Regions from separate parts of the Homo sapiens genome. Here all the other regions are linked to region 4. The links are contacts of gene promoters, found by promoter capture Hi-C in blood cells and fetal thymus (Javierre and others, 2016). All regions are on one chromosome and are shown on one strand. The core of a region is centred on a gene start or on the middle of the fragment in contact, and the rest is flanking DNA. Distances in the headings are between cores, read along the strand shown. Region 1 overlaps RPS4Y1 (ribosomal protein S4 Y-linked 1). Region 2 has its middle 36 kb from the start of ZFY. Region 3 has its middle 35 kb from the start of RPS4Y1. Region 4 holds the start of SRY (sex determining region Y).

Region 1 (5,743 bases), core at 661-3,160, 71 kb after region 4:
TCTCCAGAACTCTTTCATCTTGTTAAACTGAAACTATGTGCTTTAACCAACTTTGCCACTTTCTCCTTTCTACAACCTCTGACAACCACCATACCACTCTGCTTCTGTGAATTTGACTCTTTTGGGTGGTGTCTTAATAAGTGGAATTGATAGTGTTTGTCCTTTTCGACTAGTTAACTTTGCTTGGCGTCATGTCCTCAGGGTTCATCCATGTTGTGGCATGTGAAAGTATTTCTTTCCTCTTTTTTTGAAAGAGTTTCACTCTTGTCGCCCAGGCTGGAGTGCAGTGACTTTATCTCCGCTCACTGCAACCTCCATCTCCTGGTTTCGAGTGATTCTCCTACCTCAGCCTCCTGAGTAGCTAAGATTTCTGGCACCCATCACCACACTCAGCTGATTTTTGTATTTTTAGTAGAGATGGGGTTTCGCCATGTTGGCCAGGCTGGAGTCAAAACCCTTGACCTCAGGTGATCCACCCTCTTTGGCCTCCCAAAGTGCTGGGATTACAGGCGTGAGCCACCGCACTTGGCCAGTATTTCCTTCCTCTTTCTAAGGCAGAGTAATACTCAGTTGGGTGTGTATACCACATTTTGTTTATCCATTCCTCTGTGGATGGACATTTGGGTTGTCTCCACCTCTTGGCTACTGTGAGTAATGCTGCTGGGGACACAGCGGTGCAGACAACTCTTCCAGATCCTGCTGGATGTTTTTGTATACACACTTAGAAGTGGCATTGCTGGATGAGATAGTTTTGAAATTTTTGAGAAACCATTGTGCGGTTTTTTTATAGCAGCCTTGCCATTTTACATTCTTACCAACAGTGTAGAAGAATTTCAGTTTCTTCACATTCCTTCCCACACTTTGCTGTTGTTTGCTTTTTATATATTTTCTTTTTTTTTTTCTCGTGGCTATCCTGGTAGGTATGAGGTCATATCTCATTATTATTTTTTTAAATTTGGAGTTCTGTGATGAGTAGAGATGTTGAACATCTTTTTGAGTGTTTGTATGTCTTTGGAGAAAGGTTTTATTCATGTCCTTTGTCCAGTATTTAGCTAGGTTGTTTCTGGTATTGTGGAGTTGTAGGACATCTTTAGATAGTATCAGATGTAAGATTTGTGGATGTTTTTTCCCATTCCATAGGTTGCCTTTTCACCCTTACTGATTGTTTCTTTTGGTTGGCAGGCATTTTTAAATTTGTCAGGTTTTGCTTTTGGTGTCATGTCCAGGAAATTATATCTCTTATGTCATGAAGCTTGTGGTCTCTGTGTTTGTCTTTGGAGCTTTACAGTTCAAGGCCTTACGTTTAATCTGTTTAGAGCTGGTTTTTGTATATGGTGTAATGTAAGGTATTCTCATGTTGTTTCTTTACATGGGGACGTAGATTTACCAGCACCACTTGTTGAAGTGACTGTCTTTTCTCCATTGAGAGGTCTGGGCACCCTTGTTGAAGATCATTTGGCCATATATGCTTGGGTTTATTTCTGGGCTCTATTTTCTTCCTTTGGTCTGTTTGCCTGTCTTTTATGCCAGTATCACACTGTTGAATTACTGTCATTTTGTATTTTGTTTTCAAATTAGGAAGTGTGTTATCCAAGTGAGTCAACCATGCTCAACTTCGGTTTTGTCAGTTTTTGTTAATCTGTTTTAAAATATCAACCCTTAGTTTTTTTTCTTTTTTCTTACTGTTTTTTTCTTTTATGTCTGCTCTGGTCTTATTTAATTTTCTTCCTTCTGCCAACCTTGGGTTTATTCTGTTTTTCTAGTTCCTTGTAATGTAGTTAGGCTATTCATTTGAGGTCTTTCTTCTGTTGTAACATAAGCATTTTTGAGCTGCCTTGTCTTGTGTGACAATTTTTGACTTATAGTCTATTTTGTCTGACCCAAGTTTGGTCACCCCTGCTCTCTTTTGCTTACTATTTGCCTGGAACATCAACTTCAGCACTTCACTTTCAGCCTGTGTGTGTCGTTAAATCTGAAACCGGTCTTTTGTTAACAGCATATAGTTGTAACTTGACTGGTTGGTTGGCTGGTTTTATTCATTTAGCTAGTCTGTGTCCTTAGATTGGGGTGAGGAGTTAATCTGTTTTACAGTCAAAATAGTTGCTGTTAAGGAAGGCATTAGTTAGTATAGCTCTGTTGTTAATTATTTTCAGTATGTTCTGTAGCTATTTTATACCTATTTTTTCTCCCTTATTACCTGCCTTTTTGTGCTCTGCTGCTCTTTACTTTTTATAGTGACAAAAAATAAAAGAACACTTTGAATCCTTTCTGATTTTGTGTGTCTTCCATGGTTATTTTCTTTGTGGTTACCAAGGGGATTACATAAATTATCTTAAAGTGAAAACAGTCTGTTTTCAACTGTTACCTTCAGTTGCATCTCCATATCCCCTCAGACAAATTTTGTTATTGATGGCACACATGAATGTTTTTCTATTGTGTATCCTTTTACCATTGGTTTATGGTTATTGATGTGCTTTTGTGTTTTAAGTTCTATACCAGACTTAAAAGTGATTTATACACCTTTGTGATCTAGGATTCTCTATTTGTCTGTATATTTACCTTTATCAGAAAGCTTTATATTTTCTTTCTTTCTTTCTTTTTTTCATATGGTTTTGTGTCTGACATCCTTTTGTTTCATCCTGAAGTGCTTTTCTTCAGCATTTCTCGTAAGGCCAGCCTAGTGGCTTTTGCTTACCTTGGAAGGTCTTATTTTTTCTTTCATTTTGAAAGTTATGGTATTCTTGTGAGGACTAAACCCTGATGATTATCTTACCCAAATCCCTATCTAAGGGATCTGGAGAGTTACGCCCTACAAATGAGCATGACTCATCATCAGATGGGTTTTATTTAACCCTATATTTCATGACTTACTTTCCAGTCTGACTCTGGGATAACATTACGAGACAATGAAGAAAATAAAAATATTTTACCCCAAAACATGTTTGCCATATTTTGAAATGGACTTGCAAAGCTGCTCTTCGTGGGAGTGGAGGAGAAATCTGCATCTGTAAAGAATCTCTATTAAAATAGATAAATCTTTTTCTTCCAGACCCTCCCAATCCTAAAGAGATAAACTAAAATCTGAATAAGAAACATTGGTCATTTATTGTCTCTAAGGGCAACCACTTCCCTAAGACTTCAGAAGAACTTCAGTCTCCATCATCTTTTATCTTAACCTGAGCATTCCCTTTCCCTTCTTACCAATCCCAGGCAAACTCAACCGTCAACCAGAAAATGTTTAAATTCACCAATAGACTGGACCTGATAACCCCCCAACCCTGCCCTTTCTTGACCAAACCAGTGTATTTCTTAAATGTATTTGATTGATGCCTCATGCCTCTCTAAAATGTATAAAACCAAGCTGTGCCCTGACCACCTTGGTTACATGTTCTCAGGGCCTCCTCTTGAGGGTTGTGTCATGGGCCATGGTCGCTCATATTTGGCTCTTTTATAGTTAGACTCTTCGTTGTCACTTGGTTTAAGCACTTTGAATATGTCATCCCACTGTCTTCTGGATTGCAGAGTTATAGCTTATCTAGCAAGAGCTCCCTTGTAAATGATGAGTCACTTTTTACTTGCTGCTTCCAAGATTCTTTCTTTGTGACTCTTGAGAGTTTGATTATATTGTCTCTTGATGCTTTGGGCTTATCCTAGTTGGAGTTCAGCTTCTTGAATTTGTATGTCCATCTTCTTTCACACAACTGGGGAGTTTGGGCCATTATTCTCTTCTAGTAGGCTTTTTGCCCCTCCCTGTCTTTCCCCCAAATCCTGTTCTCATTTTCTCTGTTTCTGTCTTTTCTCCTTCTAGGACTCTTGTAGTTTGTATATTGTTCCTCTTGATGGTGTCTGCTACTCCCTCTCTTAGGCTCACCTTTATTTTTCTTTTTTCCTTTTTGCGCCTCTGACTTGTTAATTTCAGTGGCCTGTCTTCAAGTTTGCAGATTCTTTCTGGACCTGTGATTTTTAAATTCTGTTCAATTGTATTCAGTTCCAGAGTTTGATCCTTTTTTGTGGGTTTCCTTTACATTGTTGATAATTCTCATGTTGTTTATGGGTTGTTTTTCTGATTTTGTTTGTAGCTGTTTCCTTAGTTTGATATGCATCTTTAAGATGGTTAGCTTGAATTTTTTGTCTGGTAACTCATACATCATCGTTTCTTTAGGCTTATTTTTCTAAAGAAAAACAGCCATCTCTTCCAGTCTTCCCTATGTATCTTCATACAGGGAGTATGACCTTCACCAGTCAGCCAGGCTAGAGGTTTTGGGAATCTCATCTCAGGGCTTGCATGTGTACTTTCTTGGCTGTGCTTCTCTGAAGCCCCTAACCTCTTGCTTTGCCTGATGCCTGTCTGTGGTACTATGGCCTCTCTGCTGTTGTAACAACTGTCTCATATACCCTGCTCCACCCCCATCCCTGTATGTCTTTTTTTTTTTTTTTTTTTTTTTTTGAGCTGGAGTTTCATTCTTGTTGCCTAGGCTGGACTGCAGTGGTGACATCTCTGCTCACTGCAACCTCTGCCTTTTGGATTGAAGCGATTTTCCTGCCTCATCCTCCGAGTAGCTGGGGTTACAGGCATGTGCCACCATGCCCGGCTAATTTTGTACTTTTAGTAGAGACGGGATTTCTCCATGTTGGTCAGGCTGGTCTTGAACTCCCAACCTCAGGTGATCCTCCCACCTCAGCCTCCCAAAGTGATGGGATTACAGGCATAAGCCACAGTGCCTGGCAATTTTTGTAATTTTTCGTAGAGACAGGGTTGTCTCATCATGTTAGCCAGGCTAGTGTTGAATTCCTGACCTCAGGTGATCTGCCTGCCTTGGCCTCCAAAAATGCAAGGATTACTGGCATGAGCCACCGTGCCTGGCATTTTTTTTTTTTTTTTTCCAAGACAAGAGTCTTGCTTTGTCACCCAGGCTGGAGTGCAGTGGCATGATTTCGGCTCACGGCAACCCCTGTCTCTGAGGTTTAAGCATTCTCTTGCTTCAGCCTCCCAAGTAGCTGGGATTATAGGTGTGTGCCACCATGCCTAGCTGTGATCCACTGCAGTAGAAAATTTTGTTTTCACATACTGCTTTGTCCATAACCTTCCTCTCACTTCAGTTTTTGGGACTTGGATTTAAGTTGTATTAGAGCTTTTCACAGTAGACCTACTTGTCCAGTCTTCTCCATTTTTCATCCTTTTGTCTTTCCATGGTGCATCATGAGCAGTTACTTTCAGCACCTTCTATTTTTCTGATTCTCTCTTCAACTAACTATAGACATGTTTCATTAAACCCATTCCTTTCCATTCTTAATTTTGGTAACCGCATTTTTCATTATTTGTTTGATTTTCAAATCCGCTAGGTTACTCTGCAAAGGTGGGCTTCTTGTTGATTTACATTAGTTTTGTTATGTTTTGTGTTTTCTTTTATCCTTGTACACCCTTTTAAGGCAGTTCCAAGTTCTGCATTTGGTTTGTGCTATGTTGAGGGTGGTGGTCTTTATCATGGTGTCTTAGTTCCTTCCATGCTAGACACTACATGTAAAGTACTGTTAGTAAGAATACTATGCGATCAAGATGATTCTGCCTTCCTTCTGTCTGGCATCTGGGCTGTCTTAGCAGCGTGAGATCACCTTGATCAAGACTTGAGATTCCCTTGCTGGCTGTCCAGAGAGGGTGAATTTCAGATTTTAAGTTATTAGGAAGAAGGATTGTTTTGGGCTCAGGTGTTTGTGAGGGTTTTGCCTTTGGGGTCCAGCTAAT
Region 2 (6,081 bases), core at 2,968-5,467, 110 kb after region 4:
ACTTATTTTCATTTAAAGCTATTCTAATCTTTTCAGCTCCTGACAAGCTTAGGAAAGCATTTTTGCATTTTTAAAGGAGAAAAGAATATATAATGAAATTTTTAAAAAATTAGGCTGAGTTGTTTTGTGTATTGTCATGGCTTCTTAAAGGGACTTAGAGTGCTCTTTATTGGCTGGTTTCTAATATCATAGGAATATCATAATGTTCCTAATGTGTAGAAATATTATGATAGAGGAAGATAAGCATATATATAGTGGCAACATTTTGCTGGCTTTCTTTCTTATATATGCTGACCAGAACTTATCTGAAGAGATAATACAGACCTTTATGTATACGAGGGCATATAATGAGAACAAATTTAAATTTAGAATTATGCAGGTTAAACCAGTTATGTCATGATTGTGTGGCAATGCTGACCAAATGGATTTAAAATTTATGTCTTCATTTACATTCATTTTGCAATTTAATTGGATGGGGTCGGAACAGAAGAGGAATGACCATCAAGCCAAAAGTAGATGGTGACTGAAGAATCAAAATTAAATGTATTTTGATGAAGTCAGAATTTCTCTTAGCAACTTCGGGTTACATACTTAAAGCAAAATTAGTTTTTTTTTTGGTGACAGAAATTCAACTTCTACTACTTAAATAGTAGAATCTAAAATAAATGTCAAACTTGGCATATTGGTGAATTTAATCTACATTTTAGCATACTTTGATCATTGCTAAACATTTCCAGATTTGTAGATTCATGCAGTTTTGAAATGAAATTGCTTATTACAACTGGCCCTTGCCTTACCACAAATACCACTGGACCTAGTTGAAATGAAGTTTTTCTTTTTATTTTTTCATGATTCAGTTTTTAGTATGTCCAGGCTTGAAGGACTGTGGTACCAGTAGAAACTGGGAAGACAAAAACTGTCTTTCAGAACTGGCTCCTGTTTTGCCCCATGTATGCTACCTTGCCTTATCTTTAAAATTTATGGTGAAAATGAAATTAATAGGATCCAATTAATTTTTTTAATTTTGAGTTGGAGCATGAGCACTAATATACATAAAGAGACTTCCAGAACTCCCTTGACTCTATTCTTAGATTGCAAAATTGGAAGGTGAAGACAGTTCTAGTCACCTTCTCCCTGATGCCCTACACTTATTTCTCATTGGTTACTCCTAAAATTCAACAGTCTTTTCTTATTGGAAAATATGGTGACAAACACCAAATGCTTCTACATAAGTAATGAGGATCTTTCCAGTTCTTTTATATTTTGTCTTAACTAATTAATTGATAATCTTAGAAAACAGATTCTAATCCTAGCATTTGTTTCTGCTATGAAATAGCAAGTATTTGTCTTTTTTCTTAAAATAATCATGTGAAGTTATTAATGCTTGAAAAAATTGGAGCTTGTAGAAGGCAAGATCCTGATATTTTATTTTAAACAAATAATACCCCAAGTTAAGCAAATTATAGTTTTATTTAATGATTCATTTTTATTAGGCAACAAATAGTGAATGATTGTGAGTCTATTTATAATTGACTTTTTGATTAGCTAGTCAATAACTAGTGTTTAGAAAATTGGTAGTTTGGGATATTATAGACTGAATGGCTCAAAAGGATCTTTTGAATTGTTGATTATATTGTGAAAAGAAGCTTGAGGATGGCATTAACATTTAAGCTCTTGGAGGCACAGGGACCATAAATTTCTTTTAAGAGCAATTAGGTGTGGTTTTCCCCCTGGATAAATACATTAAGCCAAGCAGTTTTGCATATGATTTTACTGGTCTCACAGAGCCTTAGGAGTCATCCCATAAATGTCACATTAATTAGGATTCATATAATTTAAGCATTTCACAATGTACATCTATATCAGAACATGACATTTTACAATGCTTGTAAACTGTATCTTAATTAATTAATTAATTAAATTAAATTTTTTTTTGAGACAGAGTCTCACTCTGTCTCCATGGCTGGAGTGCAGTGGCATGATCTCAGGTCACTGCAACCTTTACCTACTGGGTTTAAGCAATTCTCCTGCCTCAGCCTCCTGAGTAGTTGGGATTACAGGTGCACACCACCACGCCCAGCTAATTTTTGTGTTTTTAGTGGAGAGGAGGTTTTACCATGTTGGCCAGGCTGATCTCGAATCCTGGACCTCAGGTGATCTGCCCACCTCGGCCTCCCAAAGTGCTGGGATTACAGGAGTGAGCCACCGTGCCCGGCCTCTTGTATCTTAATTTTTTAAAAATGAATTCCTATAATGCAACCTAACCCTGAAAATATGGCTACTAAAGCATTTATGGAACACTTACTTTATGCTTGCCACAAGGTACATCTACTCATTCTATGAATTCTCATATGAGAATGGAGTGAGTTGAGAGGTGATGATTTCGAAGTACATGCAAATCATTTTTTCTTTAATATATTTTCTTGTTTGAAAAGATGCAAATGGTGAAAATAGTGCTTTGGAAGATATTTTCTTTATTTGTCATTGGTAGTTCATTCTGGTACAGGTACACCCAACCTTTGGGCTCTTACTGGTGACATGTAGAAGTGAGCCGAAGGGCCCAAACCAAAACTGTTACTATAGTTTAAATAAGAAGGCCAGGGGTGGTGGCTCAAGCCTATAATACCAGCAGTTTGAGAGGCTGAGGTAGGAGGGCTGCCTGAGGCTGGGAGTTTTAGACTGCCACAGCCAACATACTGAGACTGCATTTCAATTAAAAACAAAAAAAGCAGCTTTGTTTTTTGGTTTTTGTTTTTGAAATTAGTCTCACTTTGTCACCCAGGCTGGAGTGCAATGTCACCATCTCAGCTCTCTGCATCCTTGACCTCTTGGGCATGTAGTTGGGATTATAGGCATGTGCCACCATACTCATTTCTGTATTTTTTGTAGAGAGGGGTTTTTCCATGTTGCCCTGGGTGGTCTTGAAATCCTGAACTTGTGGATTTCAGGATCGTGGTGGACAGGAGGCAGGACTAGATTGCAGATCCGGATAGAGCAGCATGCGGGGGCTTGCATTGTAAATTTTAGCTCCAGATTGACTGCAGGAACAAACCAGCAATCCCGAGAGGAACCACAGACCCTCTGAAGGAAGAAGACTGCCCCTGTAGGACCCAGGAGACACCCCAAATACTGTGAGTGTCCTAACAGTGGAAGTGGGAAAGAGAGACCCTCCTCTCCTGAACACACGCCCCCACTGGAGAAGCTGAAAGTCTGTTTGTGGGAGAGCAGTTTCTGACTTTACCTAGAGCTAAATCAAGTTAGAGAGCCAAGCCAAGCAAAATACAGGGATAGAGGAAGCAGCAGAAAGTCCATGGGAGCTCACTGGGTCCCCAAGCAACAAGTAGAAGAAAGAAATTCAGAGCTTGAAGACAAGGACTTCAAATTAACCCAATCCAACAAAGACAAAGAAAAAAGGAGAAGAAAATATGAGCAAAGCCTCCAAGAAGTCTGGGATTATGTTAAACAGCCTAAGAACAATCAGTGTTCTTGAGGAAGAAGACAATTCTAAAAGCTTGGAAAACACATTTCAGGGAATAATCGAGGAAAACTTCCCCAGCCTTGCTAGAGACCTACACATGCAAATAAAAGAAGCACAAGGAATACTTGGAAAATTCATCACAAAAAAGTCTTCACCTAAGCACATTGCATCAGGTTATCCAAAGTTAAAATGAATGAAAGAATCTTAAAAGCTGTGAGACAGAAGCACCAGCTAACCTACAAGGGAAAAACTGTCAGATTAACAGCAGAATTCTCCACAGAAACCCTACAAGTTAGAAGGGCTTATAGGGTTTCTGCCTCCAATCTTCAGCCTCTTCAAACAAAACAATTATCAGCCAAGAACTTTGTATCCAGTGAAACTAAGCAACATATATGAAGGAAAGGTACAATCTTTTTCAGACAAACAAATGTGGAGATAATTAGCCATTACCAAGCCATTTCAATAATAACATTGAATGTAAATGGCCTAAATGCACCACTTAAAAGATACAGAACTGCAGAATGGATATGAGCTCACCAATCATCTGCTGCCTTCAGGAAGATCATCTAACACATAAGGACTCACATAAACTTACAGGGGTGGAAAAAGTAATTTCATGCAAATGGACAACAAAAGTGACCAGGGGTAGCTATTCTTATATTAGACAAAACAAACTTCAAAGCAACAGTGGTTAAAAGAGACAAAGAAGGGCCGGGCATGCTGGCTCATGCCTGTACTCCCAGCACTTCGGGAGGCGGAGGCAGGCTGATCACGAGGTCAGGAGTTTGAGACCGGCCTGGCCAACATAGTGAAACCCCATCTCTACTAAAAATACAAAAAAAAAAATCAGCTGGGCGTGGTGGTGGGTGCCTGTAATTCCAGCTACTAGAGGCTGAGGCAGGAGAATCTCTTGAACTCGGGAGGCAGAGGCTGCAGTGAGCCGAGATCACGCCACTGCACTCTAGCCCGGGCAACAGTGCGAGACTCCGTCTCAAAGAAAAAAAAAAAGAAACAAAGAGAGACATTATGTAATGGTAAAAAGCCTTGTCCAACAAGAAAATGTCACAATCCTAAACATATATGCACTGAACACTGGAGCTCTCAAATTTATAAAACAATTACTAATAGATCTAAGAAATGAGATAGACAGCAACACAATAGTAGTGGGGAACTTCAATACTCCACTGACAGCACCAGACAGGTCATCAAGACAGAAAATCAACAAAGAAACAATGGATTTAACTATGCCTTGGAATAAATGGACTTAATATATTTCATCCAACAGCTACTGAATACACATTCTATTCAAAAGCACATGGAACTTTCTCCAAGATTAGACCATATGATAGACCATAAAAAGAGCCTTAATAAATTTAAGAAAATTGAAATTATATCAAGCACTCTTTCAAACTATGGTGGAATAAAACTGGAAATCAGCTCCAAAAGGAAGCTTCAAAACAATGCAAATACATGGACACTAAATAACCTGTTCCTGAATGAACATTGGGTCAAAAAAAATGAAGGTGGAAATTAAAAAATTCTTCGAACTGAATGACAGTAATGACAAAATCTATCAAAACCTCTGAGATATAGCTAAGGTGGTGTTAAGAGGAAAGTTGATAGCTCTAAATGCTGACATCAAAAAGTCTGAAAGAGCACAAATTGACATTCTAAGGTCACATCCCAAGGAACTAGAGAAACAAGAACAAACCAAACCAAAACCCAGCAGAAGAAAGGAAATAACCAAGATAAGAGCAGAAATAAATTGAAACAAAGAAAAAAAAGATACAAAAGATAAATAAAACAAAAAGCAGGATCTTGGAAAAGATAAGTAAAATTGATAGACCATAAACAAGATTAATCAAGAAAAGAATAGACAAAATCCAAATAACCTCACTGTGAAACAAAACAGGAGATATTACAACTGACACCACTGAAATAAAAAAGATCATTCAAGGCTATTATGAACACCCTTACACATATAAACTAGAAAACCTAAAAGAGATGCATAAATTCCTGGAAAAATATAACCCTCCTAGCTTAAATCAGGACCCTTAAATTTGATACCCTGAACAGACCAACAACCAGCAAGGTTGAAACAGTAATTTAAAAATTACCAACCAAAAAAAGTCCAAGACCAGACAAATTCATAGCAGAATTCTACCAGACATTCAAAGAAGAATCAGTACAATTCCTTTTGACACTATTCCACAAGATAGAGAAAGAAGAAACCCTCCCCAATTCATTAATTGAAGCCAGCATCATCCTAATACCAAAATCAGAAAAGGATACAACCAAAAAAGAAAACTACAGACTGATATCCTTGATGAACATAGATGCCAAAATCCTTAACAAAATACTAGCTAACTGAAACCAACAACATAGCAAAAAATAATCCACCATGATCAAGTGGGTTTCATACCAGGGATGCAGAGATGGTTTAACATACACAAGTGAGTAAGTGTGATACTAAGGCAAGATATTAAAGAAAAATAAAATTAAAAAGAAAGGGAAATAAGTTTTCCTGCATTAGGCTGATTTGTCCCAGAGGCAGCAACAGGCACAGCCCAGACCCAGGAAAAGTCTTGATAATATTACCTAAT
Region 3 (6,350 bases), core at 3,417-5,916, 90 kb after region 4:
TGGCATACTCTTGGCTCACTGCAACCTCCGCATCCCAGGTTCAAGTGATTCTCCTGCCTCAGTCTGCCAAGTAGCTGGGATTACAGGCACCTGCCTCCAACCTGGCTAAATTTTGTATTTATTTTTAGTGGAGATGGGGTTTCACCATGTTGACCAGGCTAGCCTTGAACTCCTGATCTCAAGTGATCTGCTTGTGTTGGCCTCCCAAAGTGCTGCGATTACAGGTGGTGACCCACCATGTCCAGCCTGTTTCATTGATTTTTATCTATTGTTTCTCTTTTCTATTTGATAGATTTGTATACTTTATTTTTTTTCCTTTTGCTTGCTTTGGATTATTTTTGCCCTTCTCTATACAAGTTATTAAAATGGAAGTGTACATTATTGAAATGTATTCTCTTTTCCCATGTTTTAATTTAATGCCATAATTTTACCTGTCAGCACGCCTTCTCCTTTTACCTTCATCTGATCTGAAATGTGTTTTCAAATTTATCCAGCTCAATGTATTATTTTATTGTTTCTTGACACTTTTCCTTTAACCCTCTGATTATTGAAGGATTCTTGCTTGACCCAAGGGATAATCGTCCCAGTGTATGGAGATTTTCCTGTTATAATTTTCTTACTGATTTCTACTTTAGTTTTGTTGTAGTTTGGGAACACACTGGATTATTGTAATTCTTTTTTATTTGTTGAGTTTTGTTTGATGGCAGAGGAACCTTGAAAATAATGTGTATTTTGCATTTAGCAGAGTGTTCCATAAATGTTCATTAGATGGTTTTGGGTGATGGTGTTACTGAGAGGTCTCTTTTTTGTTGATTTTCTTTCTAGTTGTCTGGTGAATTTTTTTGATAAAGGATGTTGGCCTTTCGAACTATAATAGATTTGTCTTTTTCTTTTATATTTTTTAGGTTTTGCTTGACATATTTTCAGTTCTGTTTCTTGCTGCATGGACAGTTCAGATTGCTGTTTCTTCTAGGTTGTTTTATTTAGCATTATACAATATCCTTTACATCGCTGATAATTTTATCTTCTCTAGTCTACTTTATCTGGTAATATATCTATCCACTCCTGTTCTGCTTTTCACTTTTGAACTTTTCAGCCTGTCTGTACTTTTATATGAAAGTGAGTTTCTTGTAGATAGTAAATATGTGGAGCATGTTGTTAAATCTACACTGCTAATCTCCATATTTTAGTTGGTGCATTTAAACGATTTAGTGTTTACATTTAGTGTTAATTTTTGATATGTTCATAGTTTTCTTGGAACCAAGCCAGGTCTGGCTGCATTTTCTCATGGCCTAATAACTAGAAGCAGACAAACTACATAAGAAGGGAATTTATTGCTGTAACTAGATACAGGGAGAAGATGAGATAATTCCAGGAGACCAACTCAAAGTGTTACAATTTTTTGGTGGTTATATAGGTTGGGCTTATGTGCCTACATGCAGTATAGCTTTTGCCTAAGTCTATTGGCAGCTAAATTTTGTTTCAATTAGGTCAGAGGCCAAAAAAAAAAAAGGCTTGCTAAGTCTGATTCAAAGGGCCCCAGTGCCTTCAAGGGCTGTCTACTGTGGTACAGCAGTGATTATTTGTATCTTATGTCCTTTTAGAGCTTGATCTGGAGAGGTGCCTTAGACTCTCCAGTGAATCCATTCAAACAGCTGCCTCTGTTACCTTGACTCATCTCAGGTTTTGTTGACCAGAAACGGATACTGGCACTAGGAATGTAAGGCTGTCTCTATTATCTTGGCTGGCTCCAGGTTAGGGAGAAGCCCATGCCAGGCTCCTAATGACCATATGCTTCATTTCTAGCTTTGATGTCTGGGCACTGATTTCTGTAGGTTTAACTCTGCTCAACGTTAAGGCAGTGCTATGGAAATTTGTCTGTAACTAGGGTGTTGCACAGGCCTGTGTGTATGACTGTCAGCGAGAACTGTCATGCCACAATAGCTGTTCATTTTCTGTCTGCTGGTTTTGTTTTTTCTCCCGAGTTTTATTTTTTGTCCTTTGTGTGGGTTATTTGAAGAGATTTGAGACATTCATTTTGATGTATTTGTTATCTTTTTTAGTATACCTGAAGAGATATAAAGATATGCCTTTTTTGGTTGTCTTTCTAGGTATTACATTGTGTAAACATAATTTGTCACAGTCTACTGACATCAATTTACCTTACCTCCTATTAGTCCCTTTATCATTTCCCGTTTTATACTTGCCTTATATATTTTCTCTACATACATTTATGATGATCTCAGACTGTGTTACATAATTTTTGTTATAGTAGAGTTTTTAGTTTTAAAATTTCCTTTTCTTTGCTGAAACCTGTAATTTTTACACTTTATACTTGTTCATTAGTTTTAAGCATGTTCATAATTCTTCATTTAATTATTTTTATGATGGCAGTTTAGGAATCTTTCTCAGATATTCCTGATAACACTGACATTTCTGTATTGACATTTATCATGTTGTTTCTTTGAGGTGGAGGCTTTCCTATTGCTTGATTTTTATGAGTGATTTTTATTTGAAACTTGAACATTTAGGGGACTGTTAGGAGACTCTGGACCTTATTATGATGTTCATTTTTAGCTGATTTTATCTAATACCACCCTAATAGAGGAAAGGGTGTGCTTGTCTAGTAGATGCACAATTCCAAATTCCCTTCCTCATTTCCTTTGACACCCAAGGTAAGGCTCCTCATTACTGATAAACGAATATGCAGTTTCCAGTGTCACACAAGGCCTTACTTGCACCTCCTAGGGAAGGATGTCTTATTACCACGAAAACTCTAGTTCTCTATGCTGTCTTCTCTGATTCCACTCCAGCAGAGGGTTGGGGTGCTTCATTACTGCCTATAGAATGGATGTTTGCACTTGGACTTTGTTGGCTTGGGTAGGTTTTTTGTTTTGCCTTGTTTTGTGTGTGTTGTTTGGCTAAAGTAGGGTGGCTATTGTATAAAAGCTTTTTGTCTTAGTAAGATGTCTTTTTCCTAGCCCTGTGGCTAGAGAAGGCGGGCTTGTGAGAACATTTTTGTCTGTGCCTCTTTACATTTTTGGGTACCAGCTCCTTCAGGACCAACTATGTGATAACATGAAGCCAAAACAAAATCCAGGGAACTCATCCTTTTTATCATTTGCTGGGTCTTAAGTTCCCTCAGCAGTTTACCTCTTTGCTCCAATTTTCAAAGTCTTATGCTTGTTTTAGTTATAACACCCAGGGATATTAATTGTATTCATGGTATGATGGAAAAGTACATTTGCTCCATCTATTTTATTACTTAAGTGATGACTGAAGATGCAGAACATTTGTACTGTTCCTTTTGGGCAGAAAATTCAAAGTAATTTTTGCTGTTAAAACACTTCTGTGGATGGCAAGCCACCCAGGTGCCGAGGCAAGAGACCAAGGGCACAAGCTGTTCCAGTACAATAAAATATATAAAATAAGAATAGTTATACTAGATATAGATCTTAGATATGATTATATATGAATATCATTAATCATTAGTTTGTAGCAATTATTCTTTATTCCAATATTATAATAATCCTCGCTCTGTAATCATAACCTAGGTAAAACCAGGACATACAGAAATAGGAGCTGAGGAGATGTAGTGAGAAGTGACCAGAAGACAAGAGTGCAAACCTTCTGTTATGCCCGGACAGGGTCACCAGAGGTCTCCTGGGTCTAGTGGTAATGCCAGCATCTGGGAAGATGCCCATTGCCAAGCAGACCTTGGTCTAGCAGTAGCGTCAGTGTCAAGGAAAAACACCTGCTACTCAGCAGACTGGGAAAGGGAGTCTCCCTTTCCCTGGGGGATTTAGAGAAGACTGTGCTCTTCCACCTCTTGTGGAGGGCCTGACATCAGCCAGGTTCGCCCGCAGTTATCCGGAGGCCTAACCCTCTGCCTGTGATGCTGTGCTTCAGTGGTCATGCTCCTAGTCCGCCTTCATGTTCCATCCTGTACACTTGGCTCTGCCTTTTAGATAGCAGTAGCAAATTAGTGAAAGTACTAAAAGTCTCTGATAAGCAGAAATAATGGCGTAAGCTGTCTCTCTCTCCTCTCTATCTCTGCCTTGGCTGCCAGAAAGGAAAGGGCCCCTGTCCAGTGGACATGTGACCCACGTGACCTTACCTATCATTGGAGATGGCTCATACTCCTTACCCTGCTCCTTTGTCTTGTATCCAATAAATATCAGTGTAGCCTGGCATTCGGGGCCACTACCAGTCTCCGCATCTTGGTGGTAGTGGTCCCCTGCTGTCATTTATCTCTTTGTCTTGTGTCTTTATTTCTACACTGTCTTGTCTCTGCACATGAGGAGAAAACCCACCAACCCTGTGGGGCTGGTCCCTACAACTTTCAACGAATTTAACCTAAATAGGGACAGACTACTTTACAAGGTACAGTGTCAGTTGGGCACAGTGGGTCACGGCTGTAATCCCAGCACTTTGGGAGGCCAAGGAGGTGGATCACTCAAGGTCAGAAGTTTGAGACCAGCCTGGTTAACGTGGTGAAACCCCATCTCTACTAAAAATACACACACACAATTACCTGGCCATGGTGGTGCAGGGCTGTAATCCCCATGGTGGTGCAGGCCTGTAATCCTGGCTACTCAGGAAGCTGAGGCATGAGAATCACTTGAACCTGGGAGGTGGAGGTTGCAGTGAGCTAAGATCATACCACTGAACTCCAGCCTGGATGATAGGGCAAGACTCCATCTCAAAAAAGAAAAAGAAAAAAAAAAAAAAGGCCGGGCTTGGTGGCTTACGCCTGTAATCCTAGCACTTTGGGAGGCTGAGGCGGGTAGATCATGAGGTCAGGAGATCGAGACCATCCTGGTTAGCACAGTGAAACCCCATCTCTACTAAAAATACAAGAAATTAGCTGGGCATCGTGGCGGGCGCCTGTAGTCCCAGCTACTCGGGAGGCTGAGACAGGAGAATGGCGTGAACCCTGGAGGCGGAGCTTGCAGTGAGCAGAGATAGCACCACTGCACTCCAGCCTGGGCGACAGAGCAAGACTCCATCTAAAGAAAAAAAAAAAGGAGGTACAGTGTCTTTGAATCTTAGAGGAAGCTAAGATAGTTTCTAAGGTAAACTGCTCAGAACATAAAGAGTTTGCAGAGGTTGAGGACACATATTCTAATCATGTTGACCACTATTTTTTGCATTTGTTTACTCTTTCCTCCTTCCCCCTCGTCTCCCCCTCCCTGCATTTGTTATGTTGTTGCCGTTGCTGTTTGTGTGACACTTGCCTTAACCTTACAATATTGTATTCCACATTTAACCCATCCTTTTCCATCCTCTCATTACTTTCTCCTGCTTCTTCTAAAATTTGATTTTCTTTTTTCTTTGTTCCCCTGGTATTTACCCAAGTTAGTCTGTTCACTTTTCATCCTTTTAGGCATCAGACTTTTTTTTGTAAAAAAAAAAAATCATCTTCAACATTTAATCATGTTTACTACAGTACCCTATGCAGTTTGAAAACTAAAAAGTGGGCCGGGCATGGTGGCTCATCCCTGTAATCCCAGTATTTTGGGAGGCTGAGGTGGGTGGATCACCTAAGGTCAGTAGTTCAAGAACAGCCTGGCCAATATGGTGAAACCCCATCTCTAAAAATACAAAAATTAGCCAGGCTTTTTCCTTGTACGTGTAGTCCCAGCTATTTGGGATGCTGAGGCAGTAGAATCGCTTGAACCTGGGAGGCAGAGGTTTCAGTGAGTGGAGATTGTGCCACTATACTCCAGCCTGGGCAACAGAGTGAGACTCCATCTCAAAGAAAAGAAAAAAAAAGAAAAGGAAACTAAAAAGTGGTATTATATTTTAATGGCATGTGGACATAGGTGAAATGACCATTGTTTTGTGTCATGGTATGCCAGCATAAGGAATCAGGATTCCCTGTATAGATCATGGATTATTCATTCCAAACTTTTCCTACTTAGGTGCAATTTGAAAATATATGCATATGGTCAAATGGCAGCAGTAGGTTTCCAGCCTGAGAAATCTGGCTGTACAAATCCATACACCATCCCAACTTCAGCTTTTCCAGAAAGCTGAGTGATGAATCTTGTCAGGCTTTAGCTTGTGACACCAGCAGTTTTACAGTATACAAAATCCACTCTGCTGCTTCTGAAAAGTTGCATAGCTGGAATCCCCAGTGTAATCCATTTCAGCACAACAACTGGGAATCTTTGCTGCAAATAAAGGAAGGCATGGTAAGTATGCAGCTAGTTCTTTCAGGCAAGGACCTGCCAGTCAAAGCAGAAGATAGAAAAGAAATTTTAGAAGAGGCAGGGGAAAATCAACACATTTCAATGAGATAAAAGGAAAGAAGCCTTTATGGTGGTATTGCCGAAAGTGTGCACATT
Region 4 (6,146 bases), core at 1,323-3,822:
ATACATGCATGATGTCATAATTTTTAATAATCTGAAAACCACCAAAATGTATTAAGCAAAAGAAGCTCCACATAATATTTTGTATTTATATTTATTCACATTGTTAAGGAAAAATGGTATTCAGTGATACTTGTTCAAACTTGATAAGGAAGACTATTCACGACCAACAGCACAGCAATGAGGTCTTGCACTGGGGGAGAGATTGGCCTTAGCTCCACATACACAGCTGGGTAGGTGGGGATTTATAGCCAAGGAGCAGGGAGTAGGGTCAATGGATGGACAATCACTAAGAGAAGACATCATAGATAAGGAGGATTCTTGCTGAAGACAGGCTAGGCTGATCAGACATCACCTAGAGGGTGGTGGAGGATGAGAAACCTGATCAGATATTGAGGGTGATCGATCAAGTGTTGAGTGTGATCAGATATGCGGTGGGGGTACAGTCTGGCTAACCTGGCTTAGGAGAGTTCTTTGCCAAAACTGAGTTTGGCAAGGAAGTGCACAGGCGAGTCTAGGAGAAGGTTCAGAAACCTGACTAAAGTTTGGTCAAACAGAGAATCTGTGTCAGAGGTTCAAGAAAAGGAAAATTAATGTATGGTAATGAAGGTCAGAATGGGTGTTATTTTTGGGAGAGTGAAAAGAGTGGTTTTAAATATTACAAAGTAGTTTTGAGTCAGTGTTTAAAAGGTAATGGGCAATATACAGTTCTCATTTGGCATAAAGCTCAGATTAAGTAATATTGTCTCTGGAATAAAGCTTTTTTTAAACCCTGAACTTTGAGAAACATGACATCCATCTCTAATATACACTCTTTTAGTGTTTGAGTTTTATTATTTAAGGTAATGTCTCTGAAAAGTTTTGAAATATTGGAAAGCTGACTTTGATACATACCATTAATTTTGACTTTTGATTTATTTTTATTGTAGAAAAATTTATTTGTAATTTATACTTTAAACTGTGGTTTACAGTTATTTGTAAACTTCTAGTTTCCTGCTTTAGCTTATGTGCAAATTTTATGAAGTCTTGGCATTACATTTTTATTTAAATCCCATCAAATTAAACCAGTTGGGTCACCAGCCCCCGCCCTTCCATCTCCATAATCTGGGTAGTCGGCGTTCTCAACATTCCTGTTGAGAATGAAAATTCTGTATTTTTCATTCCACAGGCTTAAAAGTTAATAGGCCATGGAAACAAGTAGATTGCCATTTTAAAAGATAGTTTTCAGAAGAAAGGCAAAATGATAAGTTTCATAGAGATACAAAAATGACAAGGAATTAAATATTTTGTTTTACCAGAGGCATTTTATAACTAGTTGAAAGGAAATGTCAACCGTTTGGATTTATATGGAGTAAAGGAACTGAATTGCAAGTGGAGGTAAAACTGGTTTTTTCCACAGCGTGAAGGGGAGAGAAAGAAACAAGTTTGATCCTGCTTACATATCCATTCCTTAGTTACCTGCAATTTATAGACACGTACAAAGTAGCTGAAAGACCAATGAATACACGGTCTAGAGAGGACTGCTTAACACGCTGCATATAGAAGTGTGATTTTTTTTGGTACAATTTTCAAGTGTGTTTCTCATTAGAGCATTTAAAGTAAGCCACAGTGTCCGTTTGTATCAAGTTAGTACTCTGACGGCCACAAACATAGGCAGGCTCACTTCTGGATGTCTTATTTCTTTGCATGTTAATCGTGTTGACACAACTTGTCTTGAAATTAAGTTTAAAATGAAATACCAGTAAAACTGAAATGAATAAGGCCTTTATTAGCCAGAGAAAAGAAAACAATATTGAAACTAAACATAAGAAAGTGAGGGCTGTAAGTTATCGTAAAAAGGAGCATCTAGGTAGGTCTTTGTAGCCAATGTTACCCGATTGTCCTACAGCTTTGTCCAGTGGCTGTAGCGGTCCCGTTGCTGCGGTGAGCTGGCTGCGTTGATGGGCGGTAAGTGGCCTAGCTGGTGCTCCATTCTTGAGTGTGTGGCTTTCGTACAGTCATCCCTGTACAACCTGTTGTCCAGTTGCACTTCGCTGCAGAGTACCGAAGCGGGATCTGCGGGAAGCAAACTGCAATTCTTCGGCAGCATCTTCGCCTTCCGACGAGGTCGATACTTATAATTCGGGTATTTCTCTCTGTGCATGGCCTGTAATTTCTGTGCCTCCTGGAAGAATGGCCATTTTTCGGCTTCAGTAAGCATTTTCCACTGGTATCCCAGCTGCTTGCTGATCTCTGAGTTTCGCATTCTGGGATTCTCTAGAGCCATCTTGCGCCTCTGATCGCGAGACCACACGATGAATGCGTTCATGGGTCGCTTCACTCTATCCTGGACGTTGCCTTTACTGTTTTCTCCCGTTTCACACTGATACTTAGAGTTACAGCTTTCAGTGCAAAGGAAGGAAGAGCTTCTCCGGAGAGCGGGAATATTCTCTTGCACAGCTGGACTGTAATCATCGCTGTTGAATACGCTTAACATAGCAGAAGCATATGATTGCATTGTCAAAAACAAGGAGAGTGCGACAAAATTGAAAGGTGCCAGAGTTCGAAACTTATTTTACTATCCAAAACTCACTTCTACCAGATTCTTTGTTACGTTAACTTTTGTAATGAAACTTGCATTTCTCCGCCCTCAACACCCCCTCAACCCCGCCCAACCAGCCTACCCCCTAGTACCCTGACAATGTATTCATTCTCAAGCAAAACATGGTAATTCAGTAACGTTGACTACTTGCCCTGCTGATCTGCCTCCCTGACTGCTCTACTGCTGTCCTGAAAAATGCGAATTTGACTTAATCGCCAATTTTTTCATTGACCTTTTATGTCACAAAACGAGAGGACACAAAAAGCTATATGAATTGTTTATCATTATCAATATATGTGTATGTTATCTTTAAAAAAACAAAGCTTAATGAGAACCTAATTGTCTTAACCACACACATACATACATAACTGCATATTGAATTTATAGTAATTATTATCGCTTTTTCTTCACTTCTATTTAAAAATTGAAAATTCTATACACATTTTTCACAGGCATTAAGTATCAGAATATTAGCATATACTTACAAGTATTTTATGCCCAACTTCTAGGATGGCTAACATTTGACTTTTAGAAAAGTAATTGTTTCGTTTAGAGAAAAAAAAATATGACCTAAGAACTCAAAACAGTTTCAGTGAAGTGTTAAGCTACACTAAAAAGGGGACACAATTCTTTTCTTTGCAGATTGTATAGTGGGATATTTTGAAGTCATTCTCTTCACTGTCACACAATTAGCAATTTAAAAAACAATCTTTTACAAGTCTAAATTAAATTTCCATTCACAACAAATAGAGCCATCAATTTATCATATTTCACCTTTTAGTTCAACCTCCTTCAAAATTTAAAGGTCACAGTTTACCAGACTAAACAAGTGAATAACTCTCCTCAATAAATCTTAAAGTCTGAAGAGAAATGACAAGATTTCTTTGCTGAAATAAAATGGGAGGAAAGTCCCCCCACTCACCAATGTTTTAATGCCATATTTGCAAAACAGGAGTAACAACTACAGGTTGCATAGTACACAGAACCTATTAATAAAAATAAACTCTCAGCAAAACTGAATGATGCCACAATTCCTAAGACAACAAAATAAAAATCCCGTAAAATATGAAAAGAGTTCATAGAACCAAATGTGGTTGGTTTGTCCAGTAAATGTTATAATGAATTAATATCAGAAACTTTAAAAAATTATATTCCATGAAAAGAAAAATATGAAAACTGTAATTTGTATCCTAGTTATCTACTAAAGTTTAGTATCTAAGATACAAAATTTAGTATTCATTATACAAAGTGGAAATATAGTTGGCTCAAGTTAAAACATGTATCTGGATAGCAAATAAAATGGTTAAATTGCAGTCATACACAGAAACAGATTTTCTACAACAGGAAATCCCTTACAAGATGAGAAAAAACATACCATTTCAAAACCTGACATGAAAATAGCAAAAAATGACACAAGGCACCACATAGGTGAACCTTGAAAATGTTACACTGTGTGAAAAAGTCAGATACAAGAGGCCAGATACTGAATGATCCCATGTATATGAAATATCCAGGAAAGGCAAATGAATAGAGACTAAAACCAGATTAATGGTTGCTAAGGACTGGATGAAAGAGGTTGTGGGGAGTTACTGCTGGTGGATGCACGGTTTCTTTTGAGGATTGATAAAATATGCTCTGGAACTAGAGAGAGGTGATGGCTGCACAACATGGTGAACCAAAGAGTCAGAGAAACTGAAGTCCAAATAAGGAGTTTGTTGGCAGTTTTAGAACTGTAATTAGAGAAACAGATTCCAGAAGCATCTGACATTGTGTCGTGACCGGCTGTTTTGAGAGACAGTTTTTAAAGGAAATAAGAGAAAGTTGGTACTCATTAGGTTACTTACAACCTATTATCTTAATTGGTAATGAAGGGTTATCTTAACAGTTCATGAGTTTCTACGCAAAAGTCCTTGAATCAGTGGTTTGGGTAAAAAGTCAGTTTTCACTATGAAGTCTTTTAATAAGTGGCAGCAATTTTTGTCTGCAGAATCTGCAAGTACATTTTGCAGTCAGGCAGTTGCAAGATGGGTTTCAAAAACAAAATGTTGTTGCTATGGTTAGGTCTTGTTGCCTTCGTTCCCCGGTACTACTGAATCGTCCAGTTTAAGAGGGATAAAGTGGCGTCGCACAGGAGCGAGGATGGAGAGCGGCGACTAGGCGGCTATGGAGAGGTACAGCGTCCAGTTGCGCCCAGCCACACTGCAGGACGCCGCCCCCGCCACACTACACCTGATACCCTGCGGCCCACCACGGTGTGGCGCTTCATCACGCCTGCCATCCGCCAGGGCCCCGAGGGACTCTTAAGTGTAGTTTCGGGGCCGCAGTCTACGGGGCGACGAGGTGGCAGTGCCGTCCGGCCTCGTGGGATACGTGATGGTGACTGAACAGGAGGAGGTGTCGATGGGGAAGCCAGACCCCTGGCGGGGTTCCGGGAGTGACAACCAAGAAGAGGAACCTCTGGAGCGGGACTTTGACCGCTTCCTCGGAACCACTACCAGCTTCAGCCGCTTCACCCTGTAGGGCATGGGGCTTCACCCTGTGGGGCACCCTGTGGGGCTTCCTTGGCCCGGAAGCCAAACTGCGTGGGGCCTTAACTTGGCCCAGCCTCGCGGCAACGATTCACGCGCAGGTGCCCAAGGACACAGAACCAGAGCTTGAAATTCAAAGCCGCGAACCCTTTACAGCAGTAAACCAGCTCCTTACTTTGTAGCCACTGGTTCCATCACCCCAGTAAAGGAGTTCTTCACAGCACACATTCACAAAAGATAAAGTGGTGAATTTTATATTCTTATATACATATGTCCAACCATCTATATGTTTTTAAGAAGGCAAAAAAGACCTCCCAGATGCATATATTACAGGACGGGGTGTGTGAGGAGACTCACTTGGGGGTGGCAGTCAACAAAATTTAAATAAAGACACGAGATTTTATTATTTTTCTGTCTACAGCTCCTAGGATAGTGTGTGACATGTAGTAGGTTCTCAGTATACTTCTCTGGTACTTAAATTAATGAAATGTGTAAACATGCCTCTGGGTTCAGAAAAACAAACTCAACCACTTAAAAAAAAAAAAAGGAAAAAAGTGTTGGTTCTCCTGTAAAGTAATAAACCTACATGCAAAAATAAGGATGCAGGGGGAGGCCGAGAGCATTAAATTTGCCTCTATAATATCATATCAACACATTTTAATCTCTCAACCAGGGCTAATAATTCACTCACTGTCTCCAGGGGACTACATTAACAGTTCTTCCAATATTGGGCCTTTATATCATCAGCTAACCATATGCTTCCCTGAGCGCCTGAGTGATCCCAGTTTCTGGAACACTATTCCTTTCTCTCAAATTCAGTAAATAAAAAGTTAAAGCGCTATATTGTTTTATATGAGTACGACCTTTAAGATTCACTGATGACTATTTCTCAACAGTTGTTAAATATTTTTACATCAGTCAGGCCCACAAGCAATGTTAACTGGTAGGAAGTTAGCTGGTCCTGTCAATGTTAAATCCAAACGGGCTTAACCAACAGCAAAAGTTGCCAAACTAAGGGATTTTTTTTTGTTTTTTTAATC

What was found. Contacts are between HindIII fragments. The CHiCAGO score rates a contact against its expected background, and 5 or more counts as called.
Region 1: a fragment that was not itself captured here is called in contact with the fragment with the promoter of SRY in region 4 in 8 of 17 cell types (M1 macrophages, M0 macrophages, non-activated CD4 T cells and 5 more); the score reaches 10.0 in M1 macrophages.
Region 2: a fragment that was not itself captured here is called in contact with the fragment with the promoter of SRY in region 4 in 7 of 17 cell types (total CD8 T cells, M1 macrophages, M2 macrophages and 4 more); the score reaches 8.0 in total CD8 T cells.
Region 3: a fragment that was not itself captured here is called in contact with the fragment with the promoter of SRY in region 4 in 5 of 17 cell types (M1 macrophages, total CD8 T cells, neutrophils and 2 more); the score reaches 8.7 in M1 macrophages.

The regions. Positions count from the first base shown.
Region 1 is chrY:2,857,186-2,862,928 of GRCh38, forward strand. The region is part of intron 5 of RPS4Y1 (ribosomal protein S4 Y-linked 1); the gene reads left to right. Among named protein-coding and RNA genes, the nearest start is that of RPS4Y1, 18 kb to the left of the region's middle. The HindIII fragment of the contact is 1,320 bases long and covers 1,251-2,570 here.
Region 2 is chrY:2,896,722-2,902,802 of GRCh38, forward strand. No RefSeq gene overlaps it. Among named protein-coding and RNA genes, the nearest start is that of ZFY, 36 kb to the right of the region's middle. The HindIII fragment of the contact is 1,417 bases long and covers 3,510-4,926 here.
Region 3 is chrY:2,873,119-2,879,468 of GRCh38, forward strand. No RefSeq gene overlaps it. Among named protein-coding and RNA genes, the nearest start is that of RPS4Y1, 35 kb to the left of the region's middle. The HindIII fragment of the contact is 3,438 bases long and covers 2,948-6,350 here.
Region 4 is chrY:2,785,110-2,791,255 of GRCh38, forward strand. It overlaps SRY (sex determining region Y), which reads right to left and starts at 2,573. Exons shown (of 1, transcript NM_003140.3): 1 at 1,746-2,573. The coding sequence starts at 2,494. The coding sequence ends at 1,880. It also overlaps the pseudogene RNASEH2CP1. RefSeq lists promoters at 2,495-6,146, 2,591-4,565, 2,591-2,904 and a cis regulatory region at 6,121-6,146. The HindIII fragment of the contact is 2,145 bases long and covers 755-2,899 here.